2 separate regions of the Homo sapiens genome follow, and region 2 is linked to region 1. Evidence: promoter capture Hi-C in human tissues and cell types (Jung and others, 2019). All regions are on one chromosome and are shown on one strand. The core of a region is centred on a gene start or on the middle of the fragment in contact, and the rest is flanking DNA. Distances in the headings are between cores, read along the strand shown. Region 1 holds the start of OGFOD2 (2-oxoglutarate and iron dependent oxygenase domain containing 2). Region 2 overlaps PITPNM2 (phosphatidylinositol transfer protein membrane associated 2).

What was found. The method cuts DNA at HindIII sites, captures the fragments that hold promoters and counts their contacts. A contact is called where the count stands out against the background at its distance.
Region 2: a contact is called between a fragment that was not itself captured here and the fragment with the promoter of OGFOD2 in region 1, in 1 of the 25 tissues and cell types used here (dorsolateral prefrontal cortex).

The regions. Positions count from the first base shown.
Region 1 is chr12:122,973,441-122,976,727 of GRCh38, forward strand. It overlaps OGFOD2 (2-oxoglutarate and iron dependent oxygenase domain containing 2), which reads left to right and starts at 1,804. Exons shown (of 7, transcript NM_001304833.2): 1 at 1,804-1,943; 2 at 2,371-2,427; 3 at 3,214-3,287. The coding sequence starts at 1,812. It also overlaps a transcript of ABCB9 not described here. RefSeq lists an enhancer at 1,249-1,708. The HindIII fragment of the contact is 12,569 bases long and covers 1-3,287 here.
Region 2 is chr12:123,126,244-123,131,896 of GRCh38, forward strand. All of the region lies in intron 1 of PITPNM2 (phosphatidylinositol transfer protein membrane associated 2), which reads right to left. Among named protein-coding and RNA genes, the nearest start is that of PITPNM2, 22 kb to the right of the region's middle. RefSeq lists an enhancer at 1,405-2,016. The HindIII fragment of the contact is 4,327 bases long and covers 128-4,454 here.

The sequences.
Region 1 (3,287 bases), core at 554-3,053:
GTAGTCCCAGCTACTCGGGAGGCTGAGGCAGGAGAATGGCGTGAACCCGGGAAGCGGAGCTTGCAGTGAGCCGAGATTGCGCCACTGCAGTCCGCAGTCCGGCCTGGGCGACAGAGCGAGACTCCGTCTCAAAAAAAGAAAAAAAAAAAAAAAAAAAAAAAAAAAAAAACAAAAACTTTGGGAGGCCGAGGCAGGGGGACCACGAGGTCAGGAGATCAAGACCATCCTGGCTAACACGGTGAAACCCCGTCTCTACTAAAAACATAAAAAATTAGCCGGGTGTGGTGGCGGGCGCCTGTAGTCCCAGCTACTCGGGAGGCTGAGCCAGGAGAATGGCGTGAACCCGGGAGGCAGAGCTTACAGTGAGCCGAGATCGTGCCACTGCACTCCAGCCTGGGCGACAGAGCAAGACTCCGTCTCAAAACAAACAAACAAACAAACAAAAAACAAAAAAATTAGCTGGGCGTGGTGGCGCCTGCCGATAATCCCAGCTATTCGGGAGGCTGAGGCAGGAAAACTGCTTGAATCCGGGAGGCAGAGGTTGCAGTGAGCGGAGATCGCGCCACTGCACTCCAGCCTGGGTGAAACTCTATCTCAAAAAGTAAATAAACAAATAAATAAACTGATAGGTACAACACACTCATCTTGCAAACTGCTGCAAACGGAGAGGGGGTGAGGGTGGGGTGGGGTGCTGCATGTGCCAGGCCTGCCTGGTGGGTGGCTGGGGAGCCGACCTGCCCTGGGCCTCCTGGGGAAAAAGGGCAGTTAGGCGGGTAATGAACATTGATCTGGGGAAATGGATCCTTTCCTAGATAGCAGGGCCTCTCACTATCACTGGGCAATCAAGACGACTGTAAAACGTTAAACACCTTCTCGGGCCGGGCAGCTCTGCACGAGAAAACCCCAAATCCCACATACTTCCACCACTCCCAGAAGCCCTGTGGTGGTTAACTGGGGAACTCTGTAGGGTTCAAACGCCATATTTGCCCCTTACTGGATGTGTGACCTGCGGCGGGTCCCTGTGCCTCTCTGGGTCTCAGTTTCCTCATCTGTAAGACGGTGATATAATAGTACCTAGCTCAAAGGTTTAATGCTGGTAGATTCCTGAGCAAAGGTCCGGGGAGAGAAGAGGCTCGGTCTGCAAGAGTTGTCATTTGTTGGCTGCGGTGAGACCACGCCCCGTCGCCCTCCCACACCTGACCCCGCCCTCCCGCGTCCATTGGGAACGCCACCGGAAGTAATGCGAGACGGAGCGTTTTGGTGGAGACACTCACTGGGGCAATCTGAGGTAATCCAACAGACTGTGGCGGAGGGACCGGAAGCGCCAGGCAGGGACCCGGGGTAGATGCTAAATCCAAACTGAAACGTACAGGGCTGGATGATTGAAGCACCAGCGGGAACTAGTCGGACCTCCGAGCTCTTTAAACTGTCCTCAGCTCGGCTGGTTCTCCACGAGCTCCGGGCAGACGGCGGGGGGTGGGTCGGCGTTTAAGTCAAAGGCCTTGGGGCTCCGAGTCCCTTCCTCTCCCCGTCCTGTGAAGGCACGACCCAGTTCAGCTGTCTGTAAAGTGGAGCCATTAGTCCCTGCCTCGTAGTGGGAAAACTGGGAGGCGGAACGAGGAGGCCGCCGGTCCCAACCCGGCCCAGGAGCATCTTTCTCCGCAGACCGTTTCCTGGCGAGGTGCGTCTTCGTCCTTTTCCGCCCTTGGGAACTTAGAGCGGCCCCTTGGCCGCTGGTTCCGCGCCTCCCGCGGTTGGGGGCGTGCCCGAAGTCTCTCTACGGAAGCTGGTAGGGCTGTGGGTGCTTCACTATGGCGACGGTGGGGGCTCCGCGGCACTTCTGCCGCTGCGCCTGCTTCTGCACCGATAACTTGTACGTGGCGCGCTATGGGCTGCACGTGCGCTTCCGAGGCGAGCAGCAGCTGCGCCGGGACTACGGCCCGGTGAGTGGCCGCTGTCGTCCCTACGGAGCAGTGGGCAGAGAGGGGTAGTGGAGGAGGGAAGTTCGTCCCCAGGGTCGTTTGCTTTGCGCACGCCGCGCACCGTATCTTCAAATACAAGAATGACGGCCTCTCTCTGCCTCGGTTTTCTCACCGTAAAGGGGTAATAGTATCTCCCTGTGAGATTGTGAGGAAGGAATGAACAAGCATGTAGGGTGCTTAGGACAGGGCCGGGCTCAGCTTGCCGCCTCACAGCAACACCAGCCCGGAGCCCTGTCCTGAGCTTGACAGGGTTCCGCAGTTCATTCTCTCCATGATCCTTTGAGGTCGGGGCTCCTCTCCCCATTTTAAGCAGGGGAAACTGAGGCTTAGAGAGTGAAGGGATTTCCTCAGGTCATACAGTCATGCTCAGTGTTCTTTCTGCTCCCAGATCCTGCGCAGCCGAGGCTGTGTTAGCGCCAAGGACTTCCAGCAGCTGTTAGCAGAGGTACCAGTCCCCTGCCCCTGCACAGCTCCTCCTCGTTAGATTTGTGTCCGCAGCTTGAGGACACAGCTTGAGCCTAGCCTCAGTCCCTGATCCCTGAAGGGTCACTTAGGCCCTCACTTTCCTCCTTCCTGCCCCCCACTCATCCCTCCACACCTGAGTCTTGGCACCAGGAGAGAGAAGGGGAAATGCTAAGTTGCTAAGTTGCCTAGTCATGCCGTTCTTAACAGCTCTGTGAGATAAGCACAAGCACCACTCTCATTTTGGATTGAGAAGCTGAGGCTTAAAGAGGGATCCCTTGCCCAAGCTTTTACAGCAGGAGCAGATGTGATCCCAGCCACAGCTTCCAGGCCCCTGGGCTCCTCACACCTTACCATATACCCCGCAGGCTGCTGCCAGGGCTGCTGCCCCACTCCCTCCTCCTCCTTCCCCTGGAGTCAGTGGTGGGAAGCTTCCCAGGAGAGTCCTCAGCAACCTCTGGAACACAGGACTTGGCCATGACTGTCTCCTGTCCCTGTGTGGGCCCAGATGGTTGAGGTACATCTAGGGGTTCTCATCCCAGCTAGGCTCAGGTTGGGGCAGCCTGAAACAGGATGGGTCCCCTTCTAGAAGTCCCTTTCAGCTAACAGTCTGGAACTTGCAGTTGACCCAGATAGATTCAGGAGTGTAGGCTAGACTTGGCTTCCAGCCTGGGCCCTGTCTGGCGTTCTGGGCTTCAGTTTCTTCATCTGTACAGTGGCCTCAGGAGGATGGGAGGCCCCACCTGGTAACAACCCTGTGCCACCCCAGCTTGAGCAGGAGGTGGAGCGGCGGCAGCGGCTGGGGCAGGAGTCAGCAGCTAGGAAAGCCCTCATCGCGAGTTC
Region 2 (5,653 bases), core at 1,041-3,540, 150 kb after region 1:
CTTCAGTGAGTTGAATATAACTGCTAAGGGTTCTGCAGGGATTGATGCATATCCTTGGGTAAGCTTGGGAATTCTTGCCCTATTAACCTCTCACTCTTGCCCTACTATTCTCCACAATCCAGTCTGGCAAGCAAGCTGACTACAACTCCCACCATTTAGAAGAGGGCCAACTTGCAGATCAGACCACCAAGCTTCAGGCGAAAAGCTGTCACAAAGCTGGAGGGCTTTAGTCCTAGGAGAACTGCACACTGACCCCTCTGGTGGTCATGCAAACCACTATGGTTAAAATAAGGCAGAAAATTAAAAGTAGCAAAACCACACTGAGTGAGTAAAGAAAAAGAACTAGGGAGGAGGGAGGATGACTTAGGAAGTATGGCCAGCATGATGGGTTCAGCCTGTGGGACAGCTGGCAGACACACATCCATCCACCCCTTCCGTGGCCTCCGAGAACAGCCTGATTCATGACATTGGAACTTCAGCTTCATCATGGTAGCCCCAGTCAGCTGAATGACTCAGCAATCCCTCAAAGACTGAATTATCTCTAGGGTTCTCTGTTGATTGAAAGAGAGGCAAGAATTGCCTTTGAGAAAGATCAGGATAATGACTGGGAAAATGTGATGAAGCTTGCATGAATGACAGCAGTGATGAAGCAGTGTCTGTTCTCTGGTTTCCAGCAGGAGCAAAAGATTTACTTCCAACAACCAGGCTCTGTTCACTGGGGTCTCGTCCAAACACTGCCCTCAGCATGGTGGTCTAGGGGATGCCAGGGCAAGGGACCACAAAGCTACAGGGAATTTCTGAGAGCCCTGCCCTTGGAGAATGCACGAATGGTTCATCCCTCCTCAAGTCACATCCATCATCCAGGATGAGTTGAGCTTGAAATAATGGACTTCCAGGCTCTGTGACAACGACTTAATGGTGCACAAATGTGTTCAAAACATTCTGGAAGAGTCCTCAGAATAACCCCACTGAGAGATGCTGAACACCCTGCATCACGCCACTTACACCGCTGCCCTCCATTTCCTGGGAGTCCAGGTCGCAGGGGACCCAGGAGGTGCTGGCAGCTGCCTGAACTGTCCGGGTGTTACTCTTGTTTCTAACCAGAAAATAAGGTCACTGGCGTGTTGATGCCCAAGCAAACAGGTGTTAGAGGTGCTCCTACCCATCAAATTCAACAATGGTTTCCACTGACGCATAGAAAAACAATGGTGTTTGCCTACTTATTTTGCAACAGGCTGCCATACTGTCTTATTCTAATTAATTTTGAGTTTGTCTACTTTGAAAACCTAAGACAACGGCTGTATCCACTCAAAACATTCATTTTGCAACCTCCTATCTGAGAGTTATGCCCTGCCTCTTTTTCTTTCTTTTTTTTTTTTTTTTTGAGACGGAGTCTCGCTCTGTCGCCCAGGCTGGAGTGCAGTGGCGTGATCTCGGCTCACGGCAACCTCTGCCTCCCGGGTTCACGCCATTCTCCTGCCTCAGCCTCCCAAGTAGCTGGGACTACAGGCGCCCGCCACCACGCCTGGCTAATTTTTTGTATTTTTAGTAGAGACGGGGTTTCACCGCGTTAGCCAGGATGGTATCAATCTCCTGACCTCGTGATCCGCCCGCCTTGGCCTCCCAAAGTGCTGGGATTACAGGCATGAGCCACCGCGCCCAGCCTGCCTCTTTTTCCTAGCCTGTTGCATTGGCTTGAATCTAGAATAAAGAACAGTACTAAAGAGAGAGAAGGCATGCTTGTCTTGCAACAGACATTAAAAGGAATGTGTCTTAGAGCAACAGTGCTTCCTAGATGTTATTTGGCCCTGGAATGCTTTTTTGATGCAATACCCAGGAGCATTCTGTGTTCCTCAAACATACTTTGGAAAATGCTACTAGAGCATTTGACTATTAAGGATAAAGTATCTGAGTGCGGTTGCTCATGCCTATAATCCTACCACTTTGGGAGGCCGAGGGGGATCACTTAAGCTCAGGCATTCAAGACCAGCCTAGTAAACATGGCGAAACCCCATCTCTACAAAAAAAAAAAAAAAAAAAAAAAAAAAAAAAAAAAAAAAAGCGGGCTCACACCTGTAGTCCCAGCTACTTAGGAGGCTGAGGTGGGAGAATCACTTGAGCACAGGAGGTGGAGGTTGCAGTGAGCTAAATCACGCCACTGCACTCCAGCCTGGGTGACAGAGCAAGACCCCGTCTCAAGTTAAAAAAAAAAAAAAAAAAAGGTGGGGGGGCAGGCGCAGTGGCTCATGCCTGTAATCTCAGCACTTTGGGAGGCTGAGGGGGGCAAATCACAAGGTCAGAAGATCGAGACCATCTTGGCTAACATGTTGAAACCCCGCCTCTACTAAAAATACAAAAAATTAGCTGGCCATAGTGGCACACGTCTGTAATCCCAGCTACTCGGGAGACTGAGGCAGGAGAATCATTTGAACCCAGAGACAGAGGTTGCAGTGAGCAAAGATCGCGCCACTGCACTCCAGCCTGGGCAATACAGTGAGACTCGATATCAAAAAAAAAAAAAAAAGATAAAGTAGCTACCGATGGGAGATATTCTTTATCATGTTGAAATATTTGCCTATCCCTCAGTCTCTACGTTTTTAAGATTAATGAGGCTGGGGCCAGTGGGCTCACGCCTGTAATCTCAGCACTTGGGAGGCCAAGAGGGCGTATCACCTGAGGTCAGGAGTTCAAGATTAGTCTGGCCAACATGGCGAAATCCCGTCTTTACTAAAAATACAAAAATTAGCCAGGTGTGGTGGTGGGCACCTGTAATTACAGCTACTCAGGAGGCTGAGGCAGAAGAATTGCTTGAACCCGGGAGGCAGAGATTGCAGTGAACCAAGATCACTGCCATTGCACTCCAGCCTGGGCAACAAAAGCGAAACTCAATCTCAAAAAAAGGAGTAATGAGGCTAGGCATGGTGGCGCACACTTGTAGTCCCAACTACTCGGCAGGCTGAGGCAGGGGAATCCCTTAAGCCCAGGAGTTCAAGGCCAGCCTGGGCAACATGGGAGTCCTGTCTCTAAAAAAATTAAATGGATAGGCCGGGCGTGGTGGCTCACGCCTGTAATCCCAGCACTTTGGGAGGCCGAGGCGGGCGGATCACGAGGTCAGGAGATCGAGACCATCCTGGCTAACACGGTGAAACCCCATCTCTACTAAAAATACAAAAAAAATTAGCTGGGCATGGTGGCGGGTGCCTGTAGTCTCAGCTACTCAGGAGGCTGAGGCAGAAGAATGGCGTGAACCCGGGAGGCGGAGCTTGCAGTGAGCCGAGATTGCGCCACTGCACTCCAGCCTGGGCAACAGAGAGACTCCGTCTCAAGAAAAAAAAAAAATTAAATGGATAGTGAACTTTATCAAATGCTTTTCTGGCATCAACTGAAAGCACAGTAGTTGTTTTATTTGTATATTTTTCTCTTTTTTCTTTTAGTAGATCTCCTAATATTTATGTTTCTGAGGCTGGCCCACAACCCAGCATAATGAGTCCTGTGCTGGGTACTTGTACTGGGGGAACACAGAGACACAGAAAAATGCATAGAGTTCTTGCCTACAGAGGAAACAGAGGGGAGAGGAACACGGGGAAAACAACACACACACATGAACATGCACACTCCTGCATACCATCTGAATGGCAGGCTAGTACTTGTGAATTTTGTTTTGCGTTTTTTTTTTTTTGAGATGAGGTCTTGCTCTGTTGCCCAAGCTGGAGTGCAGTGGTACGATCATAGCTCACTGCAGCCACAAACTCCTGGGCTCAAGTGATCCTCCCGCCTTGGCCTCCCAAGTGCTGGGACTACAGGTACACACCACCATACCCAGCTAATTTTTAAAATTTTCTGCAGAGATGGGGTCTCGATAAGTCGCCCAGGCCAGTAGTACTTGTGAATTAATGTGTCACACACAGGGCACAGTGAGGACCCCAGGGAACCACATATGAATCATGCTAATCCCAGAGGGCTTCCAGGAGATGGCACAGAGCATTTGGGGACAGGCTGGAAATGAGGGCCTATGGATTTCAGTCCTGCCTTGTGTGGGACGGAAGGGCACACTTTCCTGGCCCACAATTATCTCAGCAGTAAAACAGTAGAGATAATTATAGATGCAAAAGACCTTTGGAAACACCCAGCTCTGCCTCCTTCATTTGCAAACAGAAGCTAAGGTTGGGGGCAGGGTCATTTGCCCAAGGCCACCGAGCCATCCTTGTGTCCTTCTTGGCTCCAAGGGGAAGGGGAAGAGAAACAAAAGAAAGCTTTGATTGGCCCGGCAATCACGCCTGTAATCCCAGCACTTTGGGAGGCCGAGGCGGGCGGATCACGAGGTCAGGAGATCAAGACCATCCTGGCTAACATGGTGAAACCCCATCTCTACTAAAAATACAAAAAATTAGCCGGGCGTGGTGGCGGGCGCCTGTAGTCCCAGTTACTTAGGAGGCTGAGGCAGGAGAATGGCGTGAACCCAGGAGGCGGAGCTTGCAATGAGGCGAGATCGCACCACTGCACTCCAGCCTGGGTGACAGAGCGAGACTCCATCTCAAAAAAAAAGAGTTTTGAGATGCTGGGCAGAAAGGAAGGTGAGAACAGCCTTCCCTGTAATAAATGTAATTGCTTCTACCTGAAAAACTGGCTGAGTCAGGAGGTGGCCAGGGTGCTAAGCTTAGGGTGTAGAGGCCAGAAATAGGAGAGGCTTGGACAGGAAAAGGGGATGATCCTGGTGCTGTCCCCCACCCCACCCTCACATGCCTAGGGCACCAGAGACATCCCCACCTTCTATTCTACATCAATACACCTGAGCAGACATGTGAGGATGGCTTTCACATTCATTCATTCATTCAACAAATATGGAGATTATATGGGTTGAAGAATGTCCTCCCAAAACTCATATCCTTGTCAGAAACTCAGAATGTGACTTTACTTGGAAATAGGGTCACTGCAGATGTCATTAGTTAAGGTGAGGTTGCACTGGAGTAGAGTGAGCCCTAAATCCAATGACTGGTGTCCTTATAAGAGAAAAGTCACAGAGGCAGATAGACACAGAGGGAGACAACCATGTGACAACTTAGGCAGAGGTTGGAATTATGTGTCTTCAAGTCAAGGAATGCCAAGAATGGCCTGCAACCACCAGCAGCTAGGAGGGAGGCCGGGAACAGATACTCGTTGCGGTCTCTAGAAGCAACCAAACTGCCGAAACCCAAAATTTGGATGTGTGGCTTCCAGTACTGTTAGAGAATACATTTTCATTGTTTTAAGCCATCCAGTTGTGGTGGGTTGTTATGGCAGCCCTAGGGAATTAACACAGAGATATGGTAGTGCACAAGCCCCTGCATGCTTGCCCTAGGAGCAGAGGCTCCAGGAGGCAGAGGGAGAGTCTGGTTCCATCTGGAATCCCTCCAGGACATCACCCTTACTCTTGCCCCAGTCACAGAACCTCACCCTGCCAGCCAGCCACACCTTCCACTGCCCTTCCAGAGCAGCTCCTAGCCTGTGTCTGTGCTAGGTCCTGATGGAAGAAGCAGCCCCCAGCCAACTGTGACTGCTTACTGGAAGGGATCATCACATGTGCCAGACACAAGGATGAATCCAAGTGCCTGTCAAGCTCTGGGAGGTGCCAGGAACTGTGCTAGGCCCTTTCACATACATTCTCCTTTAAACC